Linked DNA regions of Homo sapiens: all the other regions are linked to region 1. Evidence: promoter capture Hi-C in 16 types of primary human blood cells and fetal thymus (Javierre and others, 2016). All regions are on one chromosome and are shown on one strand. The core of a region is centred on a gene start or on the middle of the fragment in contact, and the rest is flanking DNA. Distances in the headings are between cores, read along the strand shown. Region 1 holds the start of MTMR8 (myotubularin related protein 8). Region 2 holds the start of LINC01278 (long intergenic non-protein coding RNA 1278). Region 3 overlaps ZC3H12B (zinc finger CCCH-type containing 12B). Region 4 overlaps ARHGEF9 (Cdc42 guanine nucleotide exchange factor 9). Region 5 has its middle 5.7 kb from the start of ZC4H2.

What was found. Contacts are between HindIII fragments. The CHiCAGO score rates a contact against its expected background, and 5 or more counts as called.
Region 2: a contact is called between a fragment that was not itself captured here and the fragment with the promoter of MTMR8 in region 1, in 1 of 17 cell types (naive CD8 T cells). The highest score is 6.3, in naive CD8 T cells.
Region 3: a fragment that was not itself captured here is called in contact with the fragment with the promoter of MTMR8 in region 1 in 3 of 17 cell types (total B cells, activated CD4 T cells and total CD8 T cells); the score reaches 6.9 in total B cells.
Region 4: a fragment that was not itself captured here is called in contact with the fragment with the promoter of MTMR8 in region 1 in 1 of 17 cell types (activated CD4 T cells); the score reaches 5.4 in activated CD4 T cells.
Region 5: a fragment that was not itself captured here is called in contact with the fragment with the promoter of MTMR8 in region 1 in 3 of 17 cell types (activated CD4 T cells, total CD4 T cells and total B cells); the score reaches 6.4 in activated CD4 T cells.

The regions. Positions count from the first base shown.
Region 1 is chrX:64,394,179-64,396,732 of GRCh38, reverse strand. It overlaps MTMR8 (myotubularin related protein 8), which reads left to right and starts at 1,281. Exons shown (of 14, transcript NM_017677.4): 1 at 1,281-1,393. The coding sequence starts at 1,370. RefSeq lists enhancers at 1,094-1,383, 1,394-1,653. The HindIII fragment of the contact is 5,336 bases long and covers 1-2,554 here.
Region 2 is chrX:63,558,882-63,561,435 of GRCh38, reverse strand. LINC01278 (long intergenic non-protein coding RNA 1278) reads left to right here and starts at 341. Exons shown (of 4, transcript NR_152613.1): 1 at 341-604. RefSeq lists an enhancer at 620-1,161. The HindIII fragment of the contact is 5,008 bases long and covers 1-2,554 here.
Region 3 is chrX:65,035,716-65,038,269 of GRCh38, reverse strand. The region is part of intron 1 of ZC3H12B (zinc finger CCCH-type containing 12B); the gene reads right to left. Among named protein-coding and RNA genes, the nearest start is that of ZC3H12B, 2.2 kb to the right of the region's middle. The HindIII fragment of the contact is 552 bases long and covers 992-1,543 here.
Region 4 is chrX:63,751,810-63,754,363 of GRCh38, reverse strand. All of the region lies in intron 1 of ARHGEF9 (Cdc42 guanine nucleotide exchange factor 9), which reads left to right. Among named protein-coding and RNA genes, the nearest start is that of ARHGEF9, 32 kb to the left of the region's middle. The HindIII fragment of the contact is 1,252 bases long and covers 640-1,891 here.
Region 5 is chrX:64,980,853-64,983,406 of GRCh38, reverse strand. It overlaps a transcript of ZC4H2 not described here. Among named protein-coding and RNA genes, the nearest start is that of ZC4H2, 5.7 kb to the right of the region's middle. The HindIII fragment of the contact is 3,364 bases long and covers 1-2,554 here.

The sequences.
Region 1 (2,554 bases), core at 32-2,531:
AAGAGGAATGAGGATAGAAGCCAGGAAAATGGCTTAAAAAAAAGAGAAAGTTGCTGGGAAGGAGTCAGAGAAGGAACAGTTGGGGATGCAGGCAGTGAGTTTGTTTATAATAAAGGTCAAGGGAAGAAAGAATGTCAAAAAGGAATATGAATCAATAGTTTTAAATGCTGTAAAACAAATAGAAAACGAGCACTGAGAAGAGCTGTTGGAATCAGCAGCTGGAATTTAGGATGATGTGAAAGAGCCAATTGAGTGGAGTGGTAGGGAGGAGTGAGTTTGTTATGGAGAAGTGAAGGTGATGATAAGTAGACTATTCTTTTGAGATATTTGGCAGTGAAAGGGCTGAACATGATGGAACGATGGTACAAGGGAGAATAGGGTCATGGATCGAGGGAAGGGCCTTCAGGCTAGGGAAGAAGGCAGAATATGATAAACGAGTAATTTTGCTAGCAAATGTTATAAGAACTCAAAGAAGAACAAAATTATTTTGTAGGGGCAGTGAGATTGCAAACCATAACACTGCAATAGTAGAGCTAGAAATTACCCTGAGATAGTGGCCAATACCCTCATTGTAACCTTGGTCAACTTAAGACCCAGAGAGGTGGCATGATTTCCCCAAGGTCACATAGCAAGTTAGTGGCAGACCTGAGAGGAGTAGAATCCAGATTTCCCAACTCTCAGATTGTTCTTTTTTCCACCACAAATCTGACTTGGAGCACACCACTGAGGGTCTGCACCTATTTACCCCTCATCTGATAGCTGGTCCAGTGGGCCCTTTCTTGGTCCTCTTCCCATATCTACGATGGCAAAAGTGATGAGGATACTGTAGTATTCCAGATTTTAACTAGGTTGATGGCAGCAGACACATAAAGGAGAGATAGAGAGGAGGATATACCTTTCCATATTTCAAAAAATATTCTCTGGTGACTTGCCCAAGGTCTCACAGCTAGGAAGCTCTTCAGAAACCCAATTGCCAGCATGGGGCAGCCTGTGTTACTGCTGCAGGATGCTATCATTGTAATATTAGAGTAAAGGAGTGATATCTGTGTTCAGAGCCCTTATAGCATCAAGAAGGGTGAGAAGGGTGGCAGTACTCGAATCTGGGACTTAAAGACTCGGCCAAACGTTGAACCTGAACCAGAATAATCAATTTCCCGAAGAAAAGGGCACTTGCCAGGAAGCAAGATGGCGGGAACGGCTACGGTCAAAGTGTCGCGATAGGAGCTTTCGCCGAGGATCAGGTGACGAGAGTTTGAGCCAGGACCGGGAGGGCGGGGGTAGAAACCCGGGTTGAGGCAGGAGGCGGCTAGACCGGTGGCGGCGGCATCTGGAGTAGCACTGAGATCTTCCGGTGGCGGGAACTGCAGTCATGGATCATATTACGGTACCCAAGGTAAGGAGAAGAGTTAAGCGAGGCTGACAGCCGCGAGCTTCCTCTTGGTGCTCACCTGGGAGCCCAGACACACCTCCTCAGCCTTCTCAGCCTTCTTTGACGCGTCTTTCCTGTGGGGGGTCCCGGGTTCTCTTTCTGGGTCCACACCCCCTTTCAACCAAACACCTCTTCTTAGGATCTGCTTGCGGGCGTCAGCGGCCGGGAAAGAGGTGGTCTGCACCACTGTCCCCTTACGCGACGCCGCCCCCGCTCCTGGTGCACGCCTGTTCTGGCCCTCTGACTCCAGCTCCTCCCTAGCCTTGACCTCACACTCACCCTTATCTCAGCTTTTTATACTAGCTGCACTTGTAACCGCCATTCGCGAATACCCCACATTGCTCTGCCTCCTGCGGAGTTACTTCCTTTATCGAGCGTTTCTTCACCATCCTCTTGGCTCCTCCAGCCACTAACCTTCCCCAGGGATTGCCCAGAACCCCACTCTCGCTCCAGCTCCACGGCATGCCTGTGAGGGTTTGTGGGGGCCACAGCATCTCTTCAGCCAAAGCTGGGCAATGGAAAAGGAAGAGGAGTGGGGCAGAGTGGATCTGGCTCTGCTCAGCCGGTAGGAGAAACCCAAGAGGTTTATCTAGCCAGTTGTCACCTGTTTTTAGCCAGTCCCGAGTTAGAGTTACTTCTGCTACTTTTTCCTCTCATCTTTCCAGATCCTACTCCCTCCCTTCCCAACGCCAGCCCCTTTCTGTTTCAAATCCACTTCCCTCCTTTCTCCTGTCTGGGGCTGGGGAACAGTGAAAAATTCACAACTAGTCTGTGGTTATTTTTTCCTGTTGATCATAACACACGTGGTCCAGGCTAATTGAAGTCCTGGTAAAAAATCCAGCGTGTTTTTAATGGAAAGAGCATGGATTTTGAAGCCAGAAGACTTGAATTAAAGTGCTGCCCACTGCACCCCCACCAACTACTTAGCTAATGACTTTGGACAAATTATTTAACCTCTCTGAGCCTTAGCTTTCCTCACCTACTGATAGGGTTTTTCTCTGTGTCCCCACCCAAATCTCCTCTTGTAGCTTCCGTAATTCTCACGTGTTGTGGGAGGGACCCGGTGGGAGACGGTTGAATCATGGGGGCAGGGCTTTCCTGTGCTGTTCTTGTGATAGTGAATGG
Region 2 (2,554 bases), core at 32-2,531, 840 kb after region 1:
AAAGCTACATAAGGTGCTGTTGTAATCATACGGTTTTGTTGTATACATAATCCCGCTTTAATTATTCATCATTATTTATTTTCCTTTTGTTAGTTTAATTATAAAAACAACACATACTCATTTTAAGAATCCTAATAATACAGATCTGTATGTTGTTGTTGGTGAAAAGTCTCCAGTTTTTTTCATCCCTTTTCTTTATAATTTCCAGCATAATGCCATAGAAATAGACGAAACTCTCAGCGGGCTTATTCTGCATTCACTGGCCATGGTGGTTTGAGGGTTAACTTTAAGAAGCACTCTCTCCATTTCAGCTGACTGCTACATCCGGGAGAAAAGCGCTATTGCCTGGGAAACTAAGTCACGTGAGAACCTGGGGACGCTAGGTTCCGGAACCTGACCTGAGCTGGGGCCTGTGCTTCCAGCGGGTGGTGGGGGGCCTGGTGTGCTGGCATCAAGTAAGCCGACTACCTCGGCAAAGGCTTAGGGACAAGAGACCAGCAGCCTGAACTGGCTGGGGCATCCGGAAGGCTTAGATCTTGTGGCCAAGAGTTCAGACCGTGGCGAAGTGGAGAGTGACATGCAGTTGGATGGCGGTGACTGCGTGGTAAGTTGTATTTGAACACCCGGCAGGAGACAAGAAGTGGGGATGAGCTAGGACTCATCCTCCCTTTATTGAATAATTTGCCTTTTTCCAGAGGGAAGGAAGCCAGACCAGCTAGCAGGACGCCAGGGGTAGGAGTGCGGGAATGAGAATAGGTGTCTGGAACAGGGCAGAGGGGGAGGGGGACCCTGAGGCGCAAATTCTTTTTCCTTACATGGCTTTTTCTTCTCGTTTTTCTCCTCTCTCACCCTCTATGTCCCCATTATTCTTGTTCTTTCTTTTCCTGGTTACGCATTTTCATTAATCCAGAGCCTTAATTCGAATGTAAACATTTTGGCTCCTGATCCAGTTCTCCGTTAACTTTCCTGGTATTTGTGATTTCGTGTTTGGTAGCGTAATAGGACGACTATAGTTAACAATAATTTATTATGTATTTCAAAATAACTAAAAAGCGGAATTGAGATGATTCTAACATAAAGAAATGATAAATGCTTGAGGTGATGGTTATACCATCTACTCTGATTTGATTATTACACATTGTATGTTCTAATCAAAATATCACATGTACCCCATAAATATGTACAACTATTATATATCCATAATAATTAAAACTTCAAAAATGTTAACAAAATGGCAAAAAAATCAGAAGAAGTTATTCAAGTATGGTGAGTAAACGTTTAAAAAGTGACTCAGCTTCACTAATAAATGCACATGAAAAAACGGAATAGCAGATTATGATTGACAAGGGGATAAAAAGATTGTTTATGCCCAGTGTTGTGCAGAGTTTGGGGACACTGGCACTCAATTACAGTATTAAGTGTGTAAATTAGTATAATCATTTATTGTTGGGCTATTTGGCATATGTAACAAACTTGAAAACCTCTTAGTCTTTGACCTAGAAATTCTACCCTTAGGAATTTTTTTTCAACACAGTTACTACTGAAAATACACACAGGTATGCACATACACATATAATGTGTTAATTGCAGCATTATTTGTAATAGCACACTTTGGAAATAATCTAAATGCCCATCAATAGTGAATTGGTAAAATAAATTGTGGTATAACAATATGATTGGATAGAATACAGCCCTTTTAAATGGCACTGATTTGGTGCCTGTGAAATAAGTTACAAAATAGGTTTTCTAGTAGTAGTCATAATATTATCAAATATTTCTTTACAATATATGTGAATACATACTTCTATATGAACAGAAAAAATGCTATAGGAAATTATGAACAAAACAACTAGCAATGAAAATCTCTGGGTAGTGGAATTGTAGCATTTGTTTTTCCTCCCCACTTCTGCTTTCCTTCTCAACGTCCTTCCCCAACTTTCTTTCTTTCTTTTTTTTCTTAAAGATCCATGTACATTTATTTCAACATTAATTTTTATACTCCAGATACCATTTACTTTCTTTTTTAAAGTATTACATATTAAGCAATACACAAGGTTGTAAAGAAAAATTCAACCGATACCATTGTAGCCTTAGCTCAGTTTAACAAGTAAAAATTTGATCAATACAGCTGAGATCTTCTGTGTAACCTTCCTTAATTCCATTACTCCAATCATGAGTTTGGGGTTTATTTTTTCTATGAATAATTTTTTAAATTTTTTACCACATGTACATTTATATCTCAGAAATATATATTTTACTTCCTTTAAAATCTAATATAAATGGTATACTGTATATATTCTTCTCAACTTGTTTTTAGTCAAAATATGGTTGGGAGCTTTATGTTGATAACTTTTATTAACAGTTAATTTATTTTCCCTACTGTACTGTTTCTAATGTGTAACTCTACCACAATTTATTTTTCCATTTTATGAATGACCACTTTGATTGTTTCAGTTTTCAGTACATGTATTTATGTTAATGGACATTGTAATGCATTTCCTTGCTCTATGAATTATTTGATGGATTACTTTGGAAAAATTATTTCACTTTTTTT
Region 3 (2,554 bases), core at 18-2,517, 640 kb before region 1:
CAAAAGATACCAAAAAAAAGGTACAGAAGGTGTATAAAGCCTCAAAAATTTCAAGTTTGAGTATATTGTTCCTCAGAGTAAATCTGTGAATTCTTTATATTTGGAATTCTAATATGTGAATTTCTGTTAGGAGACATACCTCTCTACGGATGGAATAACTCCATACCTCGTTATTTTTCTGTGTAAATGTCAACTTACAATGGCTGACTAAAACCTAGGAGACAATTAGTCATCTGACTAATTTTCAATATAGCGGAAGGTTGTTAGAAATGTACCAAAATAAGCTTTGCAGAGGTTTGTAATTGCAGTTTAAACATTGATGTTGTCAATTATTAATATATACATTAATAACATGATATTAGAACTTTGACAGATATGAATTTGTGGGACTCTGACATACCCCTCCCTTTGTTTTCAGAAAATGGTAGCAATAGCAGTACTAAATGTAGTACTAAAAACTAAGTTATCATATACTAATGAATCAAAATGAATGTTGCTTATAAAATTTCCCTAATTTATTTTATCAAGAAATAGTCTTTGGAGCATATTAATAATCTAATGTACTATCAGACCAGTGTTGTATGAAACACTTAGAATATAACTGTCTCTTAATAGACAGTAAAAAAAAATGTACAGGTTACAAAAACATGTGAACTTAACACTCTACCTATATCTGCTTAGAAAACATTCTCACTTGCCTCAGGAAATAGGATGATTATTTTAAAGCCTGATTTCTATAGCATGTATATCTGTGAAATTATATTTAATTTGTTAATTTAGTATGTAGTTTATCATAGAAAATTATGCCCACTACAAAGAAGTTAATTGCCACTGACAGTCCTCTTCTCCTTTAGGTTTACCTAGGAGAAAATATGCAAAAGGATTAGAAAATCAAGTGCCTTAGCTCATGCTATGCTGAACTCTTCCACCTTCTAAGAAAGCTTATACTTCTATTAAGAGCCAAATCAAGTATGACTTTCTCTACAAAGCTTTCTCAGAAAAATCCAGCCTACAGTATTCTCCCTTTACTCTTAACTCTTTCAGTCCTTATTCAATATGACTCTGTTCCAATTGTTGACCATGGTGTCTCATATATGTATTTTCCTTTTTCCAATGGCTAAGCAATTTACCCATCGGTAATTTACCATTGGGTAAGCAATTTACCCAACTGGTAAATTGCTGTTTCTGTTCTATTCTCCACAATACCTGGTATAGTAGTAGGCATTCATTAGAAGCTAGAAAATAAAAACTTGTTGAAAGTCACTTTAAAAAAAAAAAAAAACTTCATTCCAGAGTTCACTGAACAAGTGCTTTGATAGCATTTGCAAAATAAGCCATCAATTTTATTTTATAATGTGATTACGACACCCTAGGTAAATGCTCTTAAGAGTATGCGGCATCTTCATAGTCATACTCACTTCAATGGAATACTAGATTGGATTCAAATTACTGCAGGGTTCTCTAAGTATGTGAAGGTGAAGAGCAAGTATTCATATGATACACTATTATTTCAAATAATTCAGACTTAAATTCATCAAAAGCTTTTCCAAAACAAAAAAAAAATTACCTTTGGAATCTAGCAACTAGAAGCATGTCAGCTTGCTAATGCACAAAACAAACAATACTCTCTGAGGTTATTTTGCAGTGGTACTAGAATTATATTGTGCTTTAATTTAAACTATACCCCCAAAGAACCTCAAACAACATGAAAGCTCCCAAAGCAAAGCATTTTACCCCAAACTAACAAAGTTTGCGGTCTTGACAGATTCACCCAATAAATTTAATCATAAATGGCATCTATATATCCTTTTTAAAAATCTTTAGCTCAAAAGCATTTACAAAAAAAAGAAAATTTAGCTTTTCCATTATTACGCTTCTCTCTCGCCACGTCTTATCAGATAAACGAAACCTGAAATGGCTTAAAAACCAATAGGGAGGGAAAAGAACCCATCTTTTGTCTGCTCACAGAACTATCTTACAATCAAAATTACTAATCTAAATTCAGTATGCTTTTGATAGGTGTCATCTGTGGACTGTAAGTTTTTTCAACCACTTACTTTTAAGAAAACAACCTCATTCATCAAAGATAATGTTGCTAATTTTCAAAAAAGCACCTCACAACTTTAGAACCTCATCTAATCACCTTGTCCAGAATATCACTTCCGGTGCCTCATGCCAATGTTTTCTGGAACCGACTATCTTCAACTGCAGGCTACCTCAGGAAGAACAGATATATCACAACCCATCCTCGCTTTTATTGGGGATATTTTAGGTTTCATCATCGTATTTATAATAAAAAAGAAGTATGCCATTCTGGATGAAAAGTAGTTTGTAAAACCAGTTTCCCCTATTATGAATCAGCCATTCTGCCTACTTCTCAAGTTTGATAGCACTTTAGAAGTCAAATGGAGTGTGTGTTTGTTTTATTATTTTTATTATTTAATATAAGTACTATCTTCCTAACGTACATGTCAGGAGTCAGAAGCCAGGCACAAGGCTTTCGGGAGGTCTTAGCACACGAGTAGCAACAACACTGAAAAGTAAGGGGCCACTC
Region 4 (2,554 bases), core at 16-2,515, 640 kb after region 1:
ACTCAGGGGGGAAAACGTTTTGAGCTTCAACATGGCCTCGCTGTGATATGTATGACGTTGGTATATTATCTCTCCCTAAATCTTTTGTCGTGTCTTGTCTTTTAAGAATGCCTGCGCGTATAGTTGCCTATTGCTTGAGTGAAATTGTTGATGAAGAAATGCTTTCTATTTAAGTGTGCATGCGTGTGTGCATTTTTAATCTATGTGGCGTTCATGGAGCAAGCTCTGCGTCCTTAAACAGTGGCTTTGCTGTCTGTGGTGTCTTAACTCATTTCCTTGAAGACTACCTTTAAACTCCATCAGGGAATTTTAGTCAAAATTTCTCTCTTGCCATCAGGAGTGCATTTGGGTTTGTTTGAGGGGAAAAGGGTTTGTGGAAGAGCATGATGAATATTTGACATCATAGGAAAGACAGTCTTTGCAGTGGATATTTAGAGGGAAAATAATCGATGCAAGGAATGGATTTAGGGAAAATGCTTCTTTAGTGTCTAAGGAGAAGCAAGAATTTGGGAAGTGACACGGGTGTGTTGTGCTGGCAGTTGGTGACTGTGTCCTTTGAATCTCAATTTGCTCTCCAGGGTTCACAATTTTCAATTTTGAAAGAAGCCACATTTAAAACACTTCTTGAACCTTAAAGCTTTAAGATATTTAAAATGTCAATTTCCTTGGAATCATGAAATAGTATGTGAAAGCATTCTCTGATTTTTTGAACTGGCAAGAGAGGACTTTGACAGGAGCTATTTGGGCTCCCTTTCCCAAAGATTGTACCCCTGGATTTGAGTTTGGGGATTTTGTTTGTCTCATCAAAAAAAAAAAAAAACCCCACAAGAAAGAAAAAACAGCTCTTTATCCACCTTGGGAATAATAGTATTTGGATATGGCTCCTTTGGGATAATCTCGTTTGCAATGATGTTCTTGAACTACATTTTAAATGTAACTTGATAAGGCTGATGAGAAAGTGGTGATGCTATTGTTTGCTCCCGTTTGTTACTTTAAGATCAGAGGTCTCTGTAATTGAAACATTCCCATAACAAACTGAAAGTCTGTAATGTGCTAAATTAAGAGTTATCAAATTTTGGTGCTAAATTTGACCACCAAAACCCAAAAACGTCTAGAAGGAAAGGGATGAGAGCATGGAAAACATGAGCTGGAAGCAACATTCCAGTTTGAGATATGACTGCTTGTCTGTATCAGATGGTGGTGGTGGTTTCTGTTGTTATTGCTATTGCTATTATTTTTATATTTCTGTTTCCTCTGAGAAAGCTCTTGGCAGAGCCAGGAAAAAAAATGTCTCATGCCAGTCTGTATAATACTTGTTTTTTTGCGTTTTGATTTTCTTTCTCCCCTGTTAATGTAGGCAGGCTTTCCCCATTCCATTGCTTACCTGGCTTGAAATAATGCCATTTATGGCTCATGTATTATAGCAGTGAATCAGGACACATACACATCTACACACATGCTCCCCCTCCACCCATGTGGGTGGCTGTTCATGTCTGATGTGCAAATCTGCTGGCATTATGCTGTCAAGTTCCATGTCCGGTTGTTCAGTCTCTTTGGAAATGATTATGAAAGGAGAGGGGCTGTGAAGGGGGCCTTTGAAATTGTCTTGGCCACAGGACCCAGAGAGTATTATTTAATGGCGTCAGAGGGTGTTTTGGGCCTCAAAGCATGCTATCCTTGACTTGGTGTGGGTGAGAAGCTGAGGTTTTTGTGAGATTAGTACCATGGTGTAAACATGATCTGGGAGGTTTGCTGGCATTGGTTCTTATTAATTACTCTTTGGTCCGTTTGTGGAGACCCCCTGGATGGAACTGAGAACCTATTTCTTTGCAAAGATAATTTAGTGAGTTTTTTTCCCCCCTTAGCTTCATTGTATTATTTAAAGTAAGCTTATATCTTTTCTGGGCACTTTGTTTTGATACAGTGTTGGAGAGTGGGGAATGGCTCTATGCTGGGCAGCTGCAGACCTGTTTTTTTGTTTTGTTTTGTTTTGTTTTTTGTTTTTTCCATTCAGCAGCTGTTTGACCTTGGACAATTTTTTTCCTCCTCGGTGGGTTTGGGATTCCCAGTAACATTGGCATTTTTTGATGGCTCCACTAGGTGACTTCCAAGTTCTTGCATTTTATGATTTTATGACCCCTAGACACTTGAAGTTGTGGGGGGTGGGGGGGATGAGCTGGAAAGACAAGTGAAAAGGAAAAGAAAATGTTAATCAAAGGGTGATGGGAGGAGGGGAAGGATATCTGGTACTACAGCCTGGATAACAAGTTTAAGCGAAGGGGTTTTTTTTGCCTAGTTATTTGGGAAGGAAACTGGGACAGCAATAAGGGAATGCTTTTTGACTTTTTTTCCCCCAAGGGGAGAAGGGGTCTCTGAGACTAGTCTTTGATCTAGGTTTATGACTTAAATAGTGTCACGAAATGCCTTCTCCTCTGTGAGCCTGACAGACCTTTGGCAGAAAGCCTCTGGGAATGTATGTGTGTGTGTAGGGTGTGTGGCAGTATGTTCATGGGGGTGTGTGGGGGGGAGCACACTCCTGAGTGTGGATGCGGGG
Region 5 (2,554 bases), core at 39-2,538, 590 kb before region 1:
GCTAGGCTGCCAATGATGGAAAACAAGGAGGTAACAAGAAAGTTTATTGAAGAATATCCATCTTAATAATAATAGCAGACACTTCTACAGTATTTATTATGCTGTTTTAGCCAGTTCCGTATATTAATTTAATTACAACCCTAAGAGTTAGTTACAATTACTATCATTTCCATTTTCCATACGAGAAGACCAAAACCCATAGAGGGGAAGTTATTTGCCCTTGAGTCAGATAGCTAAAAATAGTAGAGACCAGAGGTGAGCTCAGGCAGCCTGACTGAAGAGTCTGGGTGCCTCACCACTATGCATACTGCCACCTGTGCTAGGAAAGGAAGGGCTATCTGGGAAGTCAAGCTGGGCAATTATACGTGATATATGCAAGGGGATTTTGAAGGCCCAGGAGAGGACATCTGCCTTCCCACTCCTCTCCCAATCTGTTTACTTGCAGATACCAGATGTTTCATTCATAGGCATAAGGTTTGGTCTATTGTTTACAATGCAACCAACCCCTGGGTGGGGTACTACTAAGATTTATGTGTTATTTTTACTTTCCCAGTCTGTTTCATTTTTATTTTATGAGTGTCATTTTTCATTGTACATTTTTATACAGTTGAATCTGTCCATCTTTTCCTTGTGGTTGCTTATTTGTCATTGTGGCTTTATAAGTTATCATCCCTCTAACGCTTCTACTATAAATGAAGCCATTTTGCCCCAAACTTAGGGGAAATAATGGCTACAACCTTCACATCAAATGCTGCCCTGTCCATTTTGAGATTTCTAAATGAAGCCTCTGTCATTGTCTTCTCAAGCCTAAATCAAGACAACTTATTTATAGTTTTTTCATGCTTCTCTCCTGTTTCTATTCACTGAATTATCCCCAAATTTGGGTTCTCCAAATGACTCTAAGAATTAGGGCAAGTGGTGAGAAGGATGAGGGATATTGACCTGTAATCAATGCCTATTATAATTCAACCAATGTGCTAGGTGCTTTCTCATAACTTATCTCTTTTCATTTAATCATTAAACAGCTCTGTGAGGGGGACAAGGGCCCTATGAGTAGTTCTAAAGTACCCCAGCCTGGGAAAGATGTGCAGGGAACCTGGTAAGACTCAGCCCTTTTGGAAACTCAATCCCATACTTAGTTCTGGTGATATAAAGGAGGCTGTTAGAAACGGAAGGTCATTGGAGCTAGACAGTCAGTTTTGGTCACTCTCAAAGAGGTGAGAATTGAAGAAGAGGGGAGGGTGTGGATGAAAGTTTACTAAGAAAATGCAGTAGATGTACACTAGACTGCTTTTATAATAGGATTTTTTACACTAGGGTTTTTCGGACTTGCAGAGGGGAAAAATGGGACTCCCCTACTTCCACTGCCAGATCTTTGTTCCCTGAAATTTGCATTTGGGGGATCTAGGTCAGTGACATTGGGTAGGTGAGAAAGAATAGAGGAGTGAAATTTCAATGACATAAAGCCATCAAAAACAGCAAGAATTTCAGCTGAAACATTGCCTGAGAATACCTAGCACTGTCTATGTAAGCAGATACAAATTCTGGCTAATCACCCACAAGTCCCATCTCCTAGGGGAATCTTCAAAGTTAAGGCTTCAAACACACCCCTCAACACCCCAGCTGAAGGGCTGAAGTGATGGAGAACATGAAAATTTTCTGAGAGAGTGTGAAGAATGAGATTACCTATCTCAGCTCCTAACTCCCTAACCTAGGGAGGTCAATTACCATTTCTGTTCTTCAGTTTTTCCATATATCACATGTGAGTGCCTTCTAGCTCTAACATCGTACGGTTCTCTTCCAGTCTTTCCTGTTTCAGTGAATGGCACTGACCTTATTACTGAAGCCAAAAATCCAGGAGTCATTTTAGATGCCTTATCTCGCCCTCCGTACCTCTCCATCCTATCCATGAGCTAATCATATCAGTTCTGTGCCCAATAATATGTTCCCAATCAGCCCATTTTTCTTCATATCTACTATTACTACTGTAATTCAAGCCACCATAATTTCTTTCCTGGACAACTGTAATAGTTTTCCCACTGGTTTTCCTACTTCCACTTTTGCCCCAATAAAATCTGTTCTCACAGCAGTCAGTGATGTTTAAAAACTAGATCATGTTGCTCCCCTGCTTAAAACCCTCAATGTTTGCCTATTGTAATTAGAATAAAACCCAGACTCATCACCATGGTTTACAAGACCCTGTTTTTAGAATAACAGTTCAATGACATAAACTGTCTCCTCAGTCTACTTCTGCTCCCCTTAATCAGCCAGAGCCCTACCTACTTTTTTTTTTCATAGGCTAAGCATTTTCTGACTCAGGACCATTGCACCGGCTATTCGTTCTGCCTGGAGCACTCTTCCTCCAGATCATTGTATGCCCAACTCCTTATGTCTCCACTACAATGTCATCTCTGAACAGGAGCCTTCCCTGACCATCCTAACTAAAACATTCCCCCTCCTGCCATCATTCTGTCCTATTATCCTCAATTAGTGTCTTATGGGCTTATCTCCCCCAAATATTATTATGTTTATTTTTTTTTCTTTTCTGTCATTA